Linked DNA regions of Homo sapiens: regions 1 and 2 are each linked to region 3. Evidence: promoter capture Hi-C in human tissues and cell types (Jung and others, 2019). All regions are on one chromosome and are shown on one strand. Each heading gives the region's core, a stretch centred on a gene start or on the middle of the fragment in contact. The rest is flanking DNA. Distances are from core to core; before and after follow the strand shown. Region 1 overlaps IGSF23 (immunoglobulin superfamily member 23). Region 2 holds the start of IGSF23 (immunoglobulin superfamily member 23). Region 3 holds the start of BCAM (basal cell adhesion molecule (Lutheran blood group)).

Region 1 (3,633 bases), core at 509-3,008, 170 kb before region 3:
CTGCCAGGCTCGCTCCTGCATCTGGGGTCAGTTGACAGATTGCCCAGGGGCTGTCTGGACTAGGATAGCCTCATAGCTGGGACAACTGGCCTCTCCTTCATGTTGTCTCTCATCCTCCAGCAGGGTGACCCAAGCTTGTTCACATGGCAGAGGCAGGATTCCAAGAGTAACAGCAGAAACTTCAAGGCCCCTTAAGTCTCAAGCTCAAAATGGACATGCCATCACTTCTGCCACAGAAAGGACTTCATTGGCCAAAGTTACATGACTGGCCAAATTCAAGGGATGGGGAAGTTGACTCCACCTCTTGCTAAGAAGGGAAAAATCTGTGGCCATTTTTGCAATCTACGAAGAAATGTGGAAGTACACACAGCTCTCTCTGCCAGCCTCCCCCACACACACACTTCACCCCCACCCCAAGCCCTTACAATTCCTTTCCTCCTGCATGTGGAATTTACAGTTCTCTGTCTCTCTCTGCAGATGGGTGCTTTGTACCTCTCTATCCACGTGGAAAAAAAAACCCATCCCATAGCTTCCAAGTCTACAACATCTCTGTTCAAGGGAACAACCCAACGTAACCAGACTCCCTTTGCCCTGTTTCTGAAACACCTGAAGAAAACATCTGATGGGTTGACTCGGTGCCATCCTTGGTCCCATCGCCGTGACACGTTGTGCAAGCAAAGCATCAGAGGCTCATCCCTGTCTGTGGGAGCTCAGTGCTCAGAAAACAGGGGGGAGGTTTTACCTTGGAAATTGGCCAGACCCCAAAATATGTCTTTTACACATGCTGCTTTTTTTTTCTCTTTTTCAAAAAGAACCAAAAAATAAATTAAAACACCACCACTTCTGAATGGTTTCTCATGAAGCCTCTCTTCCTGAGAGTGGGAGAGGCATGTTTGCAAATAAGATCAACCTTTGAGCTTTGCACTGTTCAAGTTTAATACCTCTCCATAGGAGGATCCTGACAGATAGCAGGCACAGGGCACACAAGTATGGCTGAAACTCCTCTGGGGGATATATCTCACATTTGAGGAAAATTCGGTGCTTCTGTGACCAACACAGAACCACCTAACATGGCATTCTGCTTAGCAATAATAGTAGCAGAACTGAGTCCAAGTCTTGTCTGTTGAGGGCTCTCCATGTGCCAGCCACTGACTATTTACCTTACATGATTAATGTGTCATAGCAGGCCAGGCGCAGTGGCTCACACCTGTAATCCCACCACTTTGGGAGGCCAAGGCAGGTGGCTCACCTGAGGTCAGGAGTTCAAGACCAGCCTGGCCAACATAGTGAAACCCCATCTCTACTAAAAATACAAAAATTGGCCGGATGTGGGGGCACATGCCTATAATCCCAGCTACCGGGGAGGCTCAGGCAGGAGAACCACTTGAACCCAGGAGGCAGAGGTTTCAGTGAGCCGAGATCATGGCCACTGTGCTCCAGCCTGGGTGAGGGAGTGACAGTATCTCAAAAATAAAATAAAATAAGTAAGAGATGTTAGCCAGGCACGGTGACTCACGCCTGTAATCCCAGCATTTTGGGAGGCCAAGGCGGGCAGATCACCTGAGGTCAGGAATTCAAGACCAGCATGGCAACATGGTGAAACCCTGTCCCTTGTTATCACACGAATGGGGATGTGGCTTGTGTGCTGCCTAATCTTGCCTAGAACTAGGTGTACCTGCGTTCTTTTGCTTATGGCTTTACCCTTGGTTACCCTAATTCCCTATTCTCCTGCCTCAAGAGGTGACCACAGCAGCCCTGGGCCTGCCCTCCTAGGGCTTATAGTACAGTGAGGGAGACAGACCTGTTCCCAGTGATGACCCAGAGTCATCACTCTCCTCTGGGAGGCCAGGGGGGAGTCTTAATGGAGACTGGAGGATCCAGGAGGGCTTCCTGGTGAGGGAGGGGTCAGCTGTACTAGAGAACAACATTAAGATCATTAATAACAAGAGCAGCCAGATGGCCGGGCACGGTGGCTCACGCCTGTAATCCCAGCACTTTGGGAGGTGAGGCAGGCAGATCACGAGGTCAGGAGATCAAGACCATCCTGGCTAATACAGTGAAACCCTGTCTCTACTAAAAATACAAAAAATTAGCTGGCGTGGTGGCAGGAGCCTGTAGTCCCAGCTACTCGGGAGGCTGAGGCAGAAGAATGGCGTGAACCCGGGAGGTGGAGCTTGCAGTGAGCCAAGATCGTTACCACTGCACTGCAGCCTGGGCAACAGAGCGAGACTCCGTCTCAAAAAAAAAAATAAATAAATAAAAGAGCAGCCAGGTCTTCTGGTTGGAGTTGGTGTTTAAGAAAAATAAAATTTAAAAATTAAAATTTTTTTGGCCGGGCACAGTGGCTCACAGCTGTAATCCTAGCACTTTGGGAGGCCGAGGCAGATGGATTGACTGAGCTGAGCTCAGGAGTTCAAGACCAGCCTGGCCAACATGGCGAAACCTTGTCTGCTAAAAATGCAAAAAAAATTAGCCAGGCGTGGTGGTGCGGGCCTGTAATCCCAGCTACTTGGGAGGCTGAAGCATGAGAATCGCTTGAACCCGGGAGGCAGAGGTTGCAGTGAACCAAGATTGTGCCACTGTACTTCAGCCTGGGCAGCAGAGCAAGACTCTGCCAAAAATAAAAAAATTTTAAAAATTGTTTAAAGAGCAGCCACGTCTCCATAGTGGTAATTGTCAGGCATCGCACCAAAGAGCTTTAATGCGTTCTTCTCAAACAGTCCTCCCACTTCAGCCTGCCAAAGTGCTGAGATTTCAGGTTTGAGCCACTGTGCCATGCTATGCCCATTTTTCAGATAAAGAATCATAAGCCCCAGGAGACATCAATAATAATTGCTGCCATTTGTTGAGCAGTTAAATAAATAACTTTTTAGACCATATATTTCTTTTTTTTTTTTTTTTTTTTTTGAGACAGAGTCTCACTCTGTTGCCCAGACTGGAATGCAGTGGCATGACGTTGACTCACTGTAACCTCCACCTCAAGTGATTCAGCCTCCCAAGTAGCTGGGATTACAGGTGTGCACGACTACCACCCAGCTAATTTTTGTGTTTTTAGTACAGATGGGGTTTCACCATGTTGGCCAGGCTGGTCTTGAACTCCTGACCTCAAAAGTGTGGGGGAAAGAAAGAGAGATCAGACTGTTACTGTGTCTATGTAGAAAAAGGAAGACATAAGAAACTCCATTTTGATCTGTACTAAGAAAAATTCTTCTGCCTTGAGATGCTGTTAATCTGTAACCCTAGCCCCAACCCTGTGCTCGCAGAAACGTGTGCTGTATTGACTCAAGGTTTAATGGATTTAGGGCTGTGCAGGATGTGCTTTGGTAAAAATGTGTTTGCAGGCAGTATGCTTGGTAAAAGTCATTGCCATTCTCCAGTCTCAAGTAACCAGGGACACCATACACTGCGGAAGGCAGCAGGGACCTCTGCCCAAGAAAACCTGGGTATTGTCCAAGATTTCCCCCACTGAGACAGCCTGAGAGATGGCCTCGTGGGAAGGGAAAGACCTGACCGTCCCCCAGCCCGACACCCATAAAAGGTCTGTGCTGAGGAGGATTAGTGAAAGAGGAAGGCCTCTCTGCAGTTGAGATAAGAGGAGGGCATCTGTCTGCTGCTCGTCCCTGGGAATGGAAT
Region 2 (3,754 bases), core at 1,015-3,514, 200 kb before region 3:
ACATGTGTTGGCCTCGTTTTTAGGCAATCTCTCTACTCATGATAGAAAGATGGCCCCCAGCAGCTGCACACTGAGATCTCTTCAGCTCAGCAAACCCGGAAGCAAGAAAAAATGCTTTTAGGCTGGGTGCGGTGTCTCACGCCTATAATCCCACCACTTTGGGAGGCCGAGGCAGGTGGGTCACTGGAGGCCAGGAGTTCAAGACCAGCCTGGGCAACATAGTGAAAGACTGTCTCTACTAAAAATATGAAAAAATTAGCTGGGCATGGTGGCACATGCCTGTAATCCCAGCTAATCCGGAGGCTGAGGCATGAGAATCTCTTAAACCCCAGAGGTGGAAGTTGCAGCGAGCAGAGATCACACCACTGCACTCCAGCTTGAGCAACACAGCAAGACTCTGTCTTTAAATAAATAAATAAAAATTTAAAAACAGAAAAAAGAAAAATTGCTTTATTCCCCAGAGTTCCAATAAAATCCGTAAGAGATTGCTTCTCCTTGGCCTGTTCTGAGTGCCACGCCCAGGTCTCCAAAAATCACTGTTGTCAGGGGATGAAGTGCTCTGATTGGCCAGTCCTGGGCCCCTCACCTCCCTGGAGCCATGAGGAGGCTGGTTTCCAAAAGAGAACTCCAGGTGCTGTTACCTGGATACAAGAGAGTACTGGCTGGGTAGAAACCCCAGAAACCTTACAACATAATGGTTATTAACTGCATCGTAAATATTTACTTTTTCCTACAGTGGTCTCCTGACCTAGCTAATCACTCCAGCAGAGGCCTTCAGACCAACTATAAAAAAGGCACTTTAGCAAATGCTAATAAAGAAATAACTGTGTCACCTGATAATGACTATTATTAGAGACTTATGGGTGAACCTTAGCCCCTGGGTGGAACCTGAACCTCTCTGGGAGGGAAAAGCATGAGCTTCTAAGTCAGAAAGATCTGAGTTCAAGTCTGAACACTCCCATTTCACTCACTTGCTCTTCATTCATTTATTCACTAAAAAGAAAACATGTAGGCTGGCTAGGTGGTTCATGCCTGTAATCCCAGCACTCTGGGAGGCTGAGGCAGGAGGATCACTTGAGCCCAGAAGTTTGAGACCAGCCTGGGTAATATAGTGAAACTCTATTTCTACAAAAAGAAAAAAAATTTAATTGGCTGGGAATGGTAGTGTGAGACTGTAGTCCCAGCTACTCAGGAGACTGAGGCAGGATTATTGCTTGAATCCAAAAGGTTGAAGCTGCAGTGAGCTATGACCGTGCCACTGCACTCCAGCCTGGCTGACAGAGTGAGACCCCGTCTCAAAAACAAAAACATGTATTGAGCACCTGTTATATGCAAGGCACTGTTCTAGTCACTAGGGACATAGCCACAAGCCAGACAACATCCCTGCCCTCCTGGATCTGATATTCAAGTCGGAGAGGTGGGACTAAGGAGGGAGAGACAGATAATACAAGTGGACAAATAAATAAATCATCTAAAATAGCGGTAAATGATGTAAAGAAAACAAAACAGTGTGGCTTGCTAGCAAAGAGGTGGGGAACTGAGTTGCAGCAGGCATTAAGAAAGGCCTTTTTGATAGAGTGATGTGTGTGAATTAAGCCAAAATAATAAGATACAGTCAGCTTTGAGATTACATGAGTAAGGTTCTAAGGAGAGGGAACGGCTCATGCAAAGCCCCTGAGCTGGTGCCTCCAAAAACTGGCAGAAAGCCCCTGTGAACGGTTGTGTGATGGTAGGTGAGTTACTTAGCCCCTGTGCACCACGAGAAAATGGGGATGCTCATATCTACCCCTCGAGGTTGCTATGAGGATTCAAATTAGGCAACCCTGTTACAAGGTTAATGCTGTGTCCGGCATATAGTAGGTGTTCAATAAACACCAGCTATTAGTTTGAGTAATATAATTATTAATTTGAGGAGGAAAGAATGGACCTGGGGAGTGAGAAGGGTGAGGAAAAAGTAGCTAGTGTAGCTTATCCTTCTAGAATCTAAAATTCAGGATATAGTCTGAGCAAGCTCCTGATAACGGGATTCTAAACATGCCTCCAGGACATCCTAGACACCAAATTATAATTAGCATTGACTTCATAGTGACTGCCATTCGTTGAGCGCCTACTACGTGACCAGGCACTACTCCAAGCACCTTGTGTCCACGGCCCTGTCTGACTCTGGGGCAGGCACTATTATTAACGCCTCCATTTTACAGAGGAGAAAAGCTGTGGTTCAGAGTCCAAAGCCCCGTCACCTCCTACCAGGTTGACCTTTGGCCATTCCTTGCCTTTGATGTGAGTGATAGGAGCGGGCGATTCTGCTTCTCCCTCCATCTCCCGGCGGGGATTGTACGGTGAGAGAATGAGAGCAAAACCTCAGAGCCCCCTTCCCAGGAACCCTGTCCCAGCCTGGTCCCCACCCACCACCACCACTGACCCGATGCTAGAGAAGGATGCGGCTGGAGGTGACTTCCCAGCCAACTTGGTGTAAGTCATGTGGGGAAGTGGCCAGGGTAGGGCATGGTCATCGTGAGCAGGGTCCTGCAGGGTGAGGCCGGGGCTGCAGACGCGACTGTACAGGTCTATGAAGACCCCATGTGTGATGAGGAGACCTTCTCTGCACAGTCCCTGGACAGAACACGAGATGAGGGGTCCTCTGGACGTCAGCTCCAGCCACACCCCTACCTGGAGGAAGCTGCTTTTAACAGGTGCGTTGGAGACAGCGGCTTCACCACGGGCCAGGGACAAGGAGGAGAGTGTCTCCTTACGAGTCCAAGTCACCCCCACTCAGAGCTTTGACCCTGTCAGTTTGAGGCCCATGCAGCTCAGGCACCCAACTCATGAGAACTCTTGAAGGCCACTCCGCCACAAGAGATGACCCTATTGGCTTCTTTTAGGAAGAAGGGAAGTGAGGCGCAAAGAGGAGAACAGGTCACCTACCCAAGATCACAGGGCTGGCAAGGGGCAGGATCAGAATTTGGGACCCCAGCCCAGCCCCCTTCCACCAGAATGCCCTGTCTCACCCCTGCAATCCGCAACTTAGTAATAATACATATAAATAATAACAATCATAAAATAATAACAGCCGTAATAGAAGGTCACTGTAACTGAATAGATCTATATACCAGCCTGTTTGGGGTTTTTGTTTTTTTGTTTTGTTTTGTTTTGAGACAAGGTCTTGCTCTGTTGTCCAGGCTACAGTGCAGTGGCCCGATAATGACTCATTGCAGCTTCAACCTGCTGGGCTGAAGCTGTTCTCCTGCCTCAGCGTCCTGCGTAGCTGGGACCATAGGTATGCGCCACCAAACCCAGCTAATTTTTTATTTTTAGTAGAGATGAGGTCTTACTATGTTGCCCAGGCTAGTCTCGAACTCCTGGGCTCAAGCGATCCTCCTGCCTCGGCCTCCCCAAGTGCCAGGATTACAGGCGTGAGCCACTGCGCCCAGCCTGTCAGCCCGTTCTAAGTGCTTTCCTATAGTAACATTTACCTCTTATCACAACTCTTTGAGATCAGAGCTGTACGATCCCTATTTCACAGAAGGGGAAACTGAGGTTCAGAGAGGTCATGTGCCCTCTCCAGGTCACACACTTGGAAGTGGCAGACTGAAGATTTGAAGCCAGATGGGCTGGCTTCCCAGACCACACTTTCCAGAGACCACACACATCTGCCTCTCAGATAGTGAATGAATTGCTTCCTTATCCAGGTCTTAAAAGTTCACTTCTGAGTTGGGCGCGGTGACTCACACCTGTAATCCCAGCACTTTGGGAG
Region 3 (3,515 bases), core at 319-2,818:
GGGATGGTACAGTTAATCCTAAAAGGTCTTTCCCAATGTAACAGTTGCTCTGTAGGATGGATGCAGTGGCTCATGCCTGTAATCCCAGCACTTTGGAAGGCAGGAGGATCACTTGAGCCCAAGAGTTGGAGACCAGCCTGGGCAACATAGTAATACCCTGTTTCTATTACCAAAAAAATACAAAAATTAGCTGGACATGGTAACACAAGCCTATAGTCCCAGCTACTTGGGAGGCTGAAGTGGAAGGATTGCTTGAGCCCAGGCGGTTGAGGTTTGAATGAGCTATGATTGCGCCCACTGCATTCCCGGCTGGGCAACAGAGCGAGACCCTGTCAAAAACAAAACAAACAAACAAAAAAAACGTTGGTCTCCTGTATGACCAATGGATAAAGTAACCTTGACCAGTCTAATAACTCCCAGGCTGACCTGTAATCCAAGCCTTCTCTGTATGTCTGAGCAGGCAAAGCCCAGCTCCAGGGCTACCTCAACCCCCAGGCTGATCAGAAGCTTGGGTAACCTCTCCCAGTGTGGCCAGCGACCCCCCACCCTCCCACGTTCTGACCACTGTCCTGGGCAACTAGTGACATCTAGTGGGGGATTTTGTCCCAGTCTGACCTGGCCTGTAGGGGCCTTGGGCAGTCGGACCTGTGACCCACGCTTCCTAGCAGTGGCTGGACTCCTCCCCCTTCCCGCAGGTGCCCTGGCCTCTTCCCCTGCCCTCCTCACCTGCTCTGGCCAGTCTGACTCCTCCCTTCCCCACAAGGTTGGGAGGGAATGAAGGAGAGAGCGGGAAGGAGGAAGGGAGGGTGGCATTCCTGGGATTCCCTGGATAGGGGGAAGAGTGGGAGGGCCTTCCATGGGTGAGCAAGCAGAGAGGGCACCCCGTACCCCACCCCCAGCCCCATCATCGAAGCGGCCTAGGAGGACCTGGATTTGAAGACCATTGAAAATAAGAGATTAAACCGGTTGATTCCAGGCTACTGGTCAGACGAGGAAAGCAGCCCAGAGCACTGACCACAGGGGAAAACATCTCCGGGCATACTGGGAGCAGCTGCTGGGGGCCACTGGTCAGGCTGCGGGGGTCACTGGTTGGACTGGGAGAGGCCAGTGCAGGCCACTCGGACGGCACGCTTGGGGCCATTAGTTACACTGGGAGAGGCCATCGCAGGCCACAGGTTGCAGTGGGGTCCTCTGGTTAAAATCGACGATGCCAGCCCAGGCTGCTGGTCACAGTGGGGACGAGTCCCCAAGGCCCCTGGTCAGAATAACGAGGAGAAGGTCCGCGATTGCCTGGTGAGATCCCAGCTCGGGTCACTGGCTACGCTGGTCGATCAGGCCCCCCGCTGCAGGCGCTGGTCAGTAAGCCCGGACAGCTCTAGGCTTGGGGGCGGACGAGCCCCGAGCCTGGCCCCGTGCACTGGGAGGTCCGCTCCGGGCAGTGGGAGGTCCTGGCCCCGCGCCCGGGCATCGGGGGACGAGGGGGGCCTGGAGGGCGGGGCGGGGCGGGGCTGCCGGGGGCGGGGCCTCTGGCTCCCAGCCCCGCAGCGGCCGAGCTGCAGCCCGGGCTCAGTCTCCGCCGCCGCCGTGAACATGGAGCCCCCGGACGCACCGGCCCAGGCGCGCGGGGCCCCGCGGCTGCTGTTGCTCGCAGTCCTGCTGGCGGCGCACCCAGGTATGGCTCGGGCTGAGGGCAAGGTGGGACTGGGGAGAGGCCCCTGGGGACCCCGGGAAAGCGAGGAGAAAGGGCTTTACCCTGACCCCAGGAAGCAAAATGTGGGGACCCCAAGGAGGAGGGATATGGGAGTGTTGGAAGGTACGCCTTCCAGTGAGAGAGATCTGGGGACAGCCAGGCAGGAGAGCTGGGGATACCCAGGCGGTGGATCAGAGACAACCAGAGAAGTCAGCCCCCTTCCCACTCAGCACCCTGGAATCTGGGTCCCACCTGCCTCCTCCCTCAGACCCTGGAATCTGGGCCCCCAGCCCCTCTTTCCTCAGACCCAGGAGTCCAGGCCTCCAGTGGCTAGAATAGCTTCCCCCAGGGCACAGAGGATCAAAACCCCAGGGCTCTCTCCCTCAAAGGTCCTCAAGTTTTGAGAGGTCCAGGGACCCCTTAGAGAAGCGAGGACCATGTGTCCCCACACCAGCGATCCACATGTATTTAGGAGTTTCCAGAGTCCAGTATAAAGAACCCGCCTCCCTCAGGAAAGGGCTGGAGCACCAGCCCCGGGCAGTGACAGTGGAACAAAGTGTTTCCAAGTGACAGGCCCCCTTCCTGGGGCCTCAGCTACATTTACACACCTGCATGAGGATAGAAGGAGAGGAGGCCGGGGGCTGGGGGGTGGGGGTGGGGGTGCTGGGGACAGAGGGACAGAGAGATGAGAGAGATTGGGGAAGAGAGAGGAACTCTCTGCCTCCACTTGTCTGCAGATCAGACCCAGCCTTAGGCACCAGCCTGGACCCCGTCACCCCTCCCTGGGGACAGGCTGGGGCCAGAGGTGAGCGCTTGGGAATCCAGGCCCCTGGCACACTCATGGTCAACAGTGGGTCCCCAGGGGTAGGGCTGGGCCAGATTGAGCAGAGAAGGGAAGGGAGTTTCTAAGAAGCACTGAGAGCTGATGCCAGGATGCCAGCCCAGAGGGTGAGGGAGGGTGGTGGTTTTTCTACAATAACTACTCCACCAGGCCCCAGCCTCCTCTTCCCTCTGATCCCAGGAGTCCAGGTGCCCAGCTTCCCAAGATCCTGGGCCTCAACCTTATCCTTTTGCAAGATGACTCGACTTATCCCGTTTGCTGTTGTATCAAACTGAGGGGGGCCAAGAGGCGGCTGGGGGCTCTGGCTCCAGGCCGGGCAGGTCTCAGCCAGCCTGTCCCTCCCACATTCCTGAAACCTGCCCAGCCCTGTCCCCCCTCACCGCCCCCACACATCCATCCCGCCTAAGCTCCGGGCCCAGCCGCAGCCCACACCCCAGCCCCTCACTCATGGGAGAGCGGAAGAGACCCAGGGACTGAGTGGTGCAGGTGCAGAGAGAGGCAGAGACAGGGACAGAGATGGAGACCCAAGAGGAGAGACACACGCAAAGGTGGAGACCAGGATGGAGAGAAACATTTATCCATCATCACAGAGGTGGCCCTGCCCAGGGTGCTGGAGGCAAATGGCTGAGCCAGGCCTGGCCCTGCCCTGGGGGGTGGCGTGTGCTCTGTTGGGATAAGCAAAGGCTGGTGCAGTATTACCCCAGGAGTGTTCAGCGGAGGCCACAGGGCCCTGTGCAGCCCAGAGGAGGAGCCCTGAGCTCTGCAAGTGCAGGGAGAGATGGATTTGAGACCCAGAGATGCAGGGAGAAGGGATGGAGGGCGAAAGGATCTCAGGGAGGAGGGGCTGGGGCCTAGACTCCTGGGTCTGAGGGAGGAGGGGCTGGGGCCTGGACTCCTGGGTCTGAGGGAGGAGGGGCTGGGGCCTAGACTCCTGGGTCTGAGGGAGGAGGGGCTGGGGCCTAGACTCCTGAGTCTGAGGGAGGA

Evidence for each region. The method cuts DNA at HindIII sites, captures the fragments that hold promoters and counts their contacts. A contact is called where the count stands out against the background at its distance.
Region 1: a contact is called between a fragment that was not itself captured here and the fragment with the promoter of BCAM in region 3, in 1 of the 25 tissues and cell types used here (lymphoblastoid cells).
Region 2: a contact is called between the fragment with the promoter of IGSF23 here and the fragment with the promoter of BCAM in region 3, in 4 of the 25 tissues and cell types used here (IMR-90 fibroblasts, adrenal gland, liver and 1 more).

Annotation. Positions count from the first base shown.
Region 1 is chr19:44,635,942-44,639,574 of GRCh38, forward strand. IGSF23 (immunoglobulin superfamily member 23) reads left to right here. Exons shown (of 5, transcript NM_001205280.2): 5 at 478-840. Among named protein-coding and RNA genes, the nearest start is that of PVR, 6.2 kb to the right of the region's middle. RefSeq lists an enhancer at 808-1,102. The HindIII fragment of the contact is 6,031 bases long and covers 1-3,633 here.
Region 2 is chr19:44,611,299-44,615,052 of GRCh38, forward strand. IGSF23 (immunoglobulin superfamily member 23) reads left to right here and starts at 2,265. Exons shown (of 5, transcript NM_001205280.2): 1 at 2,265-2,472. The coding sequence starts at 2,348. RefSeq lists an enhancer at 3,677-3,754. The HindIII fragment of the contact is 19,410 bases long and covers 1-3,754 here.
Region 3 is chr19:44,807,535-44,811,049 of GRCh38, forward strand. BCAM (basal cell adhesion molecule (Lutheran blood group)) reads left to right here and starts at 1,569. Exons shown (of 15, transcript NM_005581.5): 1 at 1,569-1,672. The coding sequence starts at 1,591. The HindIII fragment of the contact is 22,699 bases long and covers 1-3,515 here.